Linked DNA regions of Homo sapiens: region 2 is linked to region 1. The links are contacts of gene promoters, found by promoter capture Hi-C in human tissues and cell types (Jung and others, 2019). All regions are on one chromosome and are shown on one strand. Each heading gives the region's core, a stretch centred on a gene start or on the middle of the fragment in contact. The rest is flanking DNA. Distances are from core to core; before and after follow the strand shown.

Region 1 (4,729 bases), core at 1,645-4,144:
TCTCCGCTCACTGCAAGCTCTGCCTCCCGGGTTCACGCCATTCTCCTGCCTCAGCCTCCTGAGCAGCTGGGACTACAGGCGCCCACCACCACACCCGGCTAATTTTTTGTATTTTTAGTAGAGATGGGGTTTCACCGTGTTAGCCAGGATGGTCTCGATCTCCTGACCTCGTGATCTGCCTGCCTTGGCCTCCCAAAGTGCTGGGATTACAGGCGTGAGCCACCGCGCCCGGCCTTTAATAATCTTTTTACCTAGAAGGCGGGGGAACCTGCTGGGAATTGGCGAAAACTAGCAGTCACGCCCTTTGGCCAGGAGATGGGGAGGTTTGGCCATTTTTGTGGTTTGGACAATGCTCTTGTATTCACCTGTGCTAAGACTCGATTACGGAAGGGTTTTGTTTTTCTGCGGCCAAGTGTGACTGGTCTGAGTGTCCCTGTCTGATGTGGACATTCCGTGAAATTGGTTTGGTCAATCAAAAAACTCTACAGTTTAGCTGTGACTGCCAGGCCAACTGCTAGCTGACTGTGTGTGGTCCAGGGCTACTTTTATCTTCCTCACTTTATATTCACCTCCTCACCTTTGCATATACTGTTCCCTCTGCCCAGAACACCTTTCCCTCTCTTTTTCACTCAGCTCTTTCCTTCTCAAGCTTCAGAGCTCTCCTTAAATGCCACCACCTCTGAGAAGCCCTCTTTGATCACCCAGGCTGTGGGCCTCCACAACCCTATTTCAACCCCAGGCACATCTTTTAGTCACAATTACGATTATTATTTTATTGTTATTATTATTATTATTACTTTTGAGACAGAGTCTTACTCTGTCACCCAGGCTGCAGTGCAGTGGCGTGATCTCAGCTCACTGCAACCTCTGCCTCCCAGGTTCAAGCGATTCTCCTGCCTCAGCCTCCCAAGTAGCTGGGATTACAGGCGCATGCCACCACGCCTGGGTAATTTTTAGATGGGGTTTCACCATGTTAGCCAGGCTGGTCTTGAACTACTCACCAAGTGATCTGCCCGCCTCAGTCTCCTGAAGTGCTGGGATTACAGCTATAAGCCACCACGCCTGGCCTTTATTATTATTATTTATTTATTTATTTTGAGATGGAGTTGCACTCTGTAGCCCAGGCTGGAGTGCAATGGCACGATCTCGGCTCATTGCAATCTCTGCCTCCTGGGGTCAAGTGATTCTCCTGCCTCAGCCTCCCAAGTAGCTGGGATTACAGGCATGTGCCACCACGCCCAGCTAATTTTTGTGTTTTTAGTAGAAACAGGGTTTCACCATGTTGGTCAGACTGGTCTCAAACTCCTGACCTCAGGTGATCTGCCTGGCTCGGCCTCCCAAAGTGCTAGGATTACAGGCGTGAGCCACCATGCCTGGCCTTTATTAGTATTTTTTAAGAGAGGTTCCTTCACCCAGGCTGGCTGGAGTGCAGTGGCGCTATCATACCTCACTGCACCCTCCAACTTCTGGGCTCAAGTGATTCTCTTGAATGGGAGGATGAGCATGCCACCACGCCCAGCTAATGTTTTTATCTTCTGTCGAGATGGGGTCTCATAATGTTGCCCAGGCTGCTTTCAAACACCTGGCCTCAAGCGATCCTCCCACCTTAGCCTTCCAAAGGGTTGGGATCACAGGCATGTGCCACTGCGACCAGCCAGGATAATAATCTTTCATGTGATTTTCCGACTTTAAGCCCCCTGCACCCAGAGACCTTTCTGTCTCATGCCTGAAGGGAAGGAACTGGCCACGGAAAAACCTGGGAAATTCCTGGGGGAACTCCCTGAGGCAAGACTGCGCCTGGCAATTTGTAAGAAGGGGGCTGGTGCGACCTGAGCAGAGAGCTAATGGGAGGGTGAGGGAAGCCAAGGGAGATGGGGTGGGAGGTGGGAGGAGTCTTGCGGGACAATGGGAACCCAGGGGAGGCGTTAGAGCAGGGGAGGTGCATCGCGCACTGGGATTTAGGTCCCAGCAAGGTCGCTGGGGGGATGCCTTTTAGGGAATGGACTCTGTGGTCAACTACTCCTACCTGAACTGCCCCCAAAGCATTTGCTTTTCCCTCTCCACAGTCAGGACCAGTGTAACCTTAGACCCCTAATACTGCCATTTTTACTGTTGAGAACACCGAGAAGTAGTAAATGCAGAAAATCTAAAGTATAGTGCCTAAGACAAATTGGCGCCTCAAACCTAATTTCTAAATAAAATTAATAAATAATATTGCAGAAGTGGGGAGCAGGTCAGCAATCCAGGAAGAGGCACTGGCAGGAGCAAGAGACGGAATTTGAGCCTACTCGCGGTTATGAGCCTACTCGCGGTTACATTTTGGCCAAACTCAATTCCTGGTCTCTCTGAGCCTCGGTTTCCCTACCTGGACTGCGCGGTGTGTGTTAATTTCTCTGCCCCATTTATCTCCCCTCTCCTAGCCCCGCCCCAGCGTCACCAGTGGGACGCAGAGACTCAGGACTAGGAAAGCACTTTTAAAGCGTTAAGGGATTGCGAAGAGCTACGGAGAGGCTTCCTCAGGGCTATACTGGGTCCACCTCCCCTCATGGACCGCGGGCGCGCTCTGGCGGCCGGGCCGCTCCAGGCTGAAGCCGCCGGACCACGTGTGTAGTCGCAGCTGCCATCTTTCATCCGGGCATCGGCCATCTTGGTAAAGGCAATGTTCTAGATTTTCGCCTCTGCCCGCCCCTCCTGGTTCATCAACATATTAAATGAGCGTAGGGAATGAGGGCGTATTAAGTGTCCTCTTTTTGAAGAGACAAAGAAGTGGCTGACTACCCTGGCTTGGGTCCGAGGCCCAGCCATCTTTTTCTTTACCAAAATGGCGGCGGTACTGAGGCGCAATGAGTGCGCGCCGCCAGGAGCTCAGCGCGCAGGCCCCATGATGACGTCACGGAGGCGCGACCGGGCCGGCGCTGGGGTAAGAAGGTAGGAGCGTCTGCGGCGCGGGCGGAACCCGGGTTCGGGGAGCAGAGGCGCGGGGCGGGGGCTGCTTGGCCTGGGACCATCCCCTGGGAAGGCTGGAGGAGGGGTGCTGGGAGGCAGGAGCACTTCTGGCGTCCAGTCTGAACCGCACCTAGTTGGGGGCGATGCCCATTTCCAGACTAGACGATTGAAGCCCGACGCGACAGCATGTTCGAGGCCACCTGGCCCCGGACTGCCCCTAGGCAGCTTCTGGTCTCGAGAGGGACAGAGTTGGGCGCGGACTCCCCCGGCCTCTTGTAGGGGGATTAGTGGTGGGGGACTTCAAAAGGGATAGCCGGGAGGGCTGCTTAGAGGAGGCATTGTTGAATTTTGTATTCTGTTATTTTACCTTCACATCCGTGGGGTCTTAATCCCCATGGGTCTTGATTCGCTTCTAAGTGTGCCCCTCGCCCAGCCTGAGCCACTCCCTGGGTACCGCCTGGGCTCCCAGCTCCTGCCATCTGGGGAGTCCACCTCCTCACTAACCCCAGAGGGCTTGTGTGACCCATAGATTGGGCTTCCCGGCTCTAACGCCCTCCACACCTTCCCATCTCCCTGGAATACAAATCGCCCCCTTTTCCAGCCTACCTCCTGCATCCCGCGTGCAGGCTGCGCTCTCCCCCACTCATTCAGACTTTTCCTTAGATGTCTCCTTTAGGAAGCCCTTTGACCCAGGCTGGGTCAGAAGCCCTCTCCGGGCTTCCCCGGCGCCCTGCGTGTCCTTATTAGGACTCTGATTGCATGTGTTGGCTCTTCTCTGGGAGTCCCATGCAGGCAGAAAGCTCATTTGTGCCACCTCTTTCCCCAGCATCGCACACGTATTAGGTGCCCAGTACATATTTATTGAATGACGTGTGCAAGTGAGTGAGTGTTTACTACACAGAGAAAAGTGTCTGTATTTCCAGCTTGGGCTGTCATAACTAATACCACAGACTGGGTGGCTTAAACAGCAGAAATTGCCAGGCACTGTGGCTCACACCTGTAATCCAGGCACTTTGAGAGGCCGAGGCAAGCGGATCACTTGAGGTCAAGAGTTTGAGACCAGCCTGGCCAACATAGTGAAACCCCGTCTCTACTAAAAATACAAAAATCAGATAGGCATGGTGGCACATGCCAACATGGTGAAACCCCATCTCTATAAAAATACAAAAATTAGCCGGGCGTGGTGGCAGGTGCCTGTAATCCTAGCTGCTTGGGAGGCTGAAACAGGAGAATTGCTTGAACCGGGTGGGTGGAGGTTGCAGTGAGCCGAGATTGTGCCACTGCATTCCAGCCTGGGTGAAAGAGCAAAACTCCGTCTCAAAACAAAAAAAAGCCCCAACGTGGAAACAGCCCAAATGTCTAGCTGTGGACAATGGATAAACAAAATGTGGCGTATCCATGCAGTGGAGGAATATTCAGCCATAAAAAGGAACGAAGGGCCAGGCGCAGTGGCTCAGGCCTGTAATCCCAGCACTTTGGAAGGCCGAGGCGGGAGGATCACTTGAGCCCAGGAGTTCAAGGCCAGCCTGGGCAACATAGTCAGACCCTGCCTTAAAAAAAAAAAAAAAAAGCTAGGCATGGTGGCCTGCACCTATAGTCCCAGCTACTTAGGAGGCTCAGGTGGGAGGATCACTTGAGCCCAGGAGGTCAAGGCTGCAGTAAGCCGAGATTTCGCCACTGCACTCCAGCCTGGGCGACAGAGTGAGACCCTGTCTCCAAAATAAATAAATAAATGTACTCTCACACTGTGTGGCCTTTTGTGTCTGGCTTCTTTCACTTAGTA
Region 2 (4,729 bases), core at 629-3,128, 590 kb before region 1:
AAGCTCTGGCCAAGGCCGCTGCGGCATCGCAGTGATCCGGACCAGCGGCCCCGCCAGCGGCCACGCCCTCCGAATTCTCACAGCACCCCGAGACCTGCCCCTTGCTCGCCACGCCAGCCTGCGCCTGCTCAGCGATCCCCGCTCCGGGGAGCCTCTGGACCGCGCACTGGTGCTCTGGTTCCCAGGTGAGGGTCCCCAGGTTCCGAGCCTCCTGTAGGTCCCATGACTCAGTTTCCCCCTTCCAAGGGTTTGCACTGGCTGTGCTGTCCTCCTGTCACCTGTCTGTCACATTAGGTCCCCAGAGTTTCACCGGTGAGGACTGCGTGGAGTTCCACGTGCATGGAGGCCCGGCAGTGGTGAGCGGCGTCCTGCAGGCCTTGGGTGAGTTGCAGCGTTGGGTGAGATGCTTGGTCCTCCCAATGGGCCTGGGTGGGGACCAGGGGGTGTCAGACTGGGACCTTCCTGCAGGCAGCGTGCCAGGGCTTCGACCGGCGGAGGCAGGCGAGTTCACCAGACGGGCGTTCGCCAATGGGAAGCTGAACCTGACCGAAGTGGAGGGGCTGGCGGACCTTATCCACGCGGAAACAGAGGCGCAGCGGCGGCAGGCCCTCAGGCAGCTGGACGGAGAGCTGGGCCACCTCTGCCGTGGCTGGGCCGAGACCCTCACCAAAGCAAGTCCCCCATTTGTCCATTCTCTCCCTCAGAGACCCCATCTGTGCAACCCCTGCATGAGACCCCCTCTCAATCCCGCATTCATTCCCTGCGTGAAAGCTTCCGGCCTATGAGCCGCCATTCTGGCCCCTGAAGTCGGGCTGGACAAATTGGGTGTGGGAAGGTGGGTTTCTGGGTGCACACACCACCTCTGCTCTCCCTGCCCCGCCAGGCTCTGGCCCACGTGGAGGCCTATATCGATTTCGGCGAGGATGACAACCTGGAGGAGGGGGTCCTGGAGCAAGGTGGGTCTACCTGGTGGTGGGGGAGGAAGACACCTCATATCAGCCCTCAAAGGCTCCCCTCACTGTCTCTCTCTGCCTGCCTTCTCTCACCCACAGCCGACATCGAAGTACGGGCACTGCAGGTGGCCCTGGGTGCACATCTACGAGATGCCAGGCGCGGGCAGAGGCTCCGCTCAGGGGTGCACGTAGTGGTCACTGGACCCCCCAATGCGGGCAAGAGCAGCCTAGTGAACCTGCTCAGTGAGTAGGCGGCGGGAAGGGGGCGGGGCCTAGTGCCAGGGGCGGGGCCAAGAGCTGGGTTATTGAGTTAGTTGTTCAGGTCTAAAGCTCCCTCCAGACATGGGGTAGAACCTGGGGGAGGAGCTCCCTTGTCTCCACCCTCTCCTCTTCTTCTGACCCTCCCCCAGGTCGGAAGCCTGTGTCCATCGTGTCCCCGGAGCCAGGGACCACCCGTGACGTGCTGGAGACCCCAGTCGACCTGGCCGGATTTCCTGTGCTGCTGAGCGACACGGCTGGGTTGCGGGAGGGCGTGGGGCCCGTGGAGCAGGAGGGCGTGCGGCGCGCCCGGGAGAGGTGGGCGGACAGGGTGGTGATGGGAGGGGAACGCGGGGCCCTTTCTCTGCCTTTTCTCCCTGTTGCGTTTATTTTTCATTCTTCCTGAATCAGAGAACCTGCTAAGCCCTATCAAGCATGGATCTCAGGGATTTGGTTCTTTTTTTTTTTTTTTTTTTTTACTCCGAGACCGAGTCTTGCTCTGTCGCCCAGGCTGGAGTGCAGTGGCGGTATCTCAGCTCACTGCAAGCTCTGTCTTCCGGGTTCAAGCAAGTCTCCTGCCTCAGCCTCCCAAGTAGCTGGGATTACAGGCGGGAGCGACCACGCCGAACTATTTTTTTTTTTTTTTTGTATTTTTAGTAGAGATGAGGTTTCACTATGTTGGCCAGGTTGGTCTCTAACTCCTGAGCCTCGGCCTCCCAAAGTGTTGTGAGCCCACCGCACCTGGCCTGGTGTTTTGTTTTTGTTTTTGAGACGGAGTTTCGCTCTTGTTGCCCAGGCTGGAGTGTGCAGTGGTACAATCTCGGCTCACTGCAACCTCCGCCTCTCGGGTTCAAGTGATTCTTCTGCCTGGGCCTCCCGAGTAGCTGGGATTAGAGGCGCCCACCACAATGCCAGGCTAATTTTTTGTATTTTTAGTAGAGATGGGGGTTTCACCATGTTGGCCAGGCTGGTCTCGAACTCCTGATCTCAGGTGACCCGCCTGCCTCGGCCTCCCAAAGTGCTGGGATTACAGGCGTTAGCCACTGTGCCCGGCCAGTGATTTAGTTCTGATTAAGTCCTGCCCCCGGCCCTCCGGACATGTTTCTCATCCCTAAGCCCTCCGCCCAGCCCTCACGTTCTGCCCCGCCCTCTCGTGCTCTGTCCCGCCCTGGCACTCCGCTCTGCCCCTTGCGGTCTATCCCATCCCCTGTGCTCTGTCCACCCCCTACATTCTGCCCCACCCCTGGTGCTCTCTACCCCTTACCCTGTGGTGTGTCTGGTCCTTCTTGCTCTGCCCCGCCACTCATGGTCGCCCCACTCCAGTGCTGTACCCGGCCCCTTTTGCTCTGTCCCAGCCCCTGTGCTGTGCCCTGTCCCTCTTGCTCTGCTCTTCCCCCTGCACAGTGCTCTGCCCCTCTTGCTCTGCCCCGCCCTCCTGTGCTGTGCCCCGCCCCTCCTGCCCTGCCCTACTCACTGCACTGTGCCCAGCCCCTCCTGCTCTGCCCCGCTCCCGCACCGTGACCGCTCCTCTTGCTCTGCCCTTCCCCCTGCACTGTGCCCCGCCCCTCTTGCTCTGCCCCACCCCCTGTGCTCGGCTTGGGCCCCCAACATTCTGCCGGTCCCCTGGTACTCTACTCCTCCCTCCCGACCTCACGCTTCGCAGCTCCCCCAGTGCTCTGCCTGGCCCCTCTAACTGTCCCTCCACCCAGTGCCTTCAATTGCTCAACCTGGGATCCCCGCTCAGTTGACCTTGCTCCCGCAGGCTAGAGCAGGCTGACCTCATTCTGGCCATGCTGGATGCTTCTGACCTGGCCTCTCCCTCCAGTTGCAACTTCCTGGCCACCGTCGTAGCCTCTGTGGGAGCCCAGAGCCCCAGTGACAGCAGCCAGCGCCTCCTCCTGGTGCTGAACAAGTCGGACCTGCTGTCCCCGGAGGGCCCAGGTCCCGGTCCTGACCTGCCCCCGCACCTGCTGCTGTCCTGTCTGACGGGAGAGGGGCTGGACGGCCTCCTGGAGGCGCTGAGGAAGGAGCTAGCTGCAGTGTGAGCCCCCTCCCACTCCCAGCCTCCCCTGACCCACAGTTTAAGTGTGGGTCCCTCAACTTCAATTTCTGAACCTACAAAATGGGTACAACCATTTCCCCTTCAAGGGATGGTTGTAAAAGGTCGGGAGAGACCATGTCTCTTGTCTCTTCCAGGTGTGGGGACCCGTCCACAGATCCCCCGCTGCTGACCCGAGCAAGGCACCAGCACCACCTCCAGGGTTGCCTGGATGCCCTCGGCCACTACAAGCAGTCAAAAGACCTGGCCCTGGCGGCAGAGGCGCTGCGGGTGGCCCGGGGTCACCTGACCCGGCTCACAGGTGGAGGGGGTACCGAGGAGATCCTGGACATCATCTTCCAGGACTTCTGTGTGGGCAAGTGACGGGATCCAGGGAAGTCGCACCCAAGCTGCGTGGAGACCCAGGAGCCTCGGGGGATCTGGAAACAGTTTAGGCCAATTGGGATTCTCATTCGCCTGGGAAAGAACTTGATTCTCAAATAGTGAAGCAACACAGCTGAGAGGTAGTGAGATCCCTGCAGGGACTCCCTGGAGATTCAGGCCCTGGAATGGGGCTGAATGGAGGTCCCGTTCGACCCTTGATGCTGGGGCATCCGGGTTGGGATGGAGATAGGAGGATCTCAGTATATTTGTTTCGTAGTTTTTTATTTATTTTGCAAATACCAAAGGAATGTAAAAAAAACTCAGGTGATCTAGAAGTGTTTATTTTCTTCCCTTCCCTTCCCTTCCCTTTCCTTTTCCCTTTCCCTTTCCCCTTCCCCTTCCCCTTCCCCTTCCCCTACCCTTCCCTCCTCTGTCTATTGCCCAGGCTGGAGTGCAGTGGTGCGACCTTGGCTCACTGCAACCTCCATCTCCGGGGCTCAAGCGCTTCTCCTGCCTCAGCCTCCTGAGTAGCTGGGATTACAGGCATGTGCCAGCATGCCCGGCTAATTTTTTTCTTTTTTTGAGACAGAGTCTCGCTCTGTCACCCAGGCTGGAGTTCAGTGGTGCGACCTCGGCTTACTGCAACCTCCACCTCCCGGGTTCAAGTGATTCTCCTGCCTCAGCCTCTTGAGTAGCTGGGACTACAGGCGCACACCACCACGCCAGGCTAATTTTTGTATTTTTAGTAGAGACAAGGTTTCACCATGTTGACCAGGCTGGTCTTGAACTCCTTGACCTCAGGTAATCTGCCTACCTTGGCCTCCCAAAGTGCTGGGATCACAGGCGTGAGCTATCACACCTGGCCCCAGAAGTGTTTCAACATGGAAATTTTCCTTAGCCCTTCTGTGGTTGTCATGGCTTAATGTGTGTCTTTCCAGAACTTTGAATGTTTGCATACTTGTGGATGTACCTTTCAAATATGTTTGTCTTGTGTATCATATATAAATGGTATTGTGTTCATTGCTCTACAAATTGTCATTTCTTTTTAAAAAAAAAACAGAATTATGGAGATGGGGGGTCTCACTATGTTGCCCAG

Evidence for each region. The method cuts DNA at HindIII sites, captures the fragments that hold promoters and counts their contacts. A contact is called where the count stands out against the background at its distance.
Region 2: a contact is called between a fragment that was not itself captured here and the fragment with the promoter of CCDC124 in region 1, in 1 of the 25 tissues and cell types used here (dorsolateral prefrontal cortex).

What each region holds. Positions count from the first base shown.
Region 1 is chr19:17,930,121-17,934,849 of GRCh38, forward strand. It overlaps CCDC124 (coiled-coil domain containing 124), which reads left to right and starts at 2,895. Exons shown (of 5, transcript NM_001136203.2): 1 at 2,895-2,928. RefSeq lists enhancers at 1,973-2,511, 2,658-2,717, 2,738-2,927 and a silencer at 3,008-3,057. The HindIII fragment of the contact is 29,527 bases long and covers 1-4,729 here.
Region 2 is chr19:17,338,071-17,342,799 of GRCh38, forward strand. It overlaps GTPBP3 (GTP binding protein 3, mitochondrial), which reads left to right. Exons shown (of 9, transcript NM_032620.4): 2 at 1-185; 3 at 295-381; 4 at 469-671; 5 at 884-956; 6 at 1,053-1,196; 7 at 1,364-1,529; 8 at 2,974-3,252; 9 at 3,408-4,661. The coding sequence ends at 3,633. Among named protein-coding and RNA genes, the nearest start is that of GTPBP3, 2.9 kb to the left of the region's middle. RefSeq lists an enhancer at 1-467. The HindIII fragment of the contact is 4,795 bases long and covers 1-4,276 here.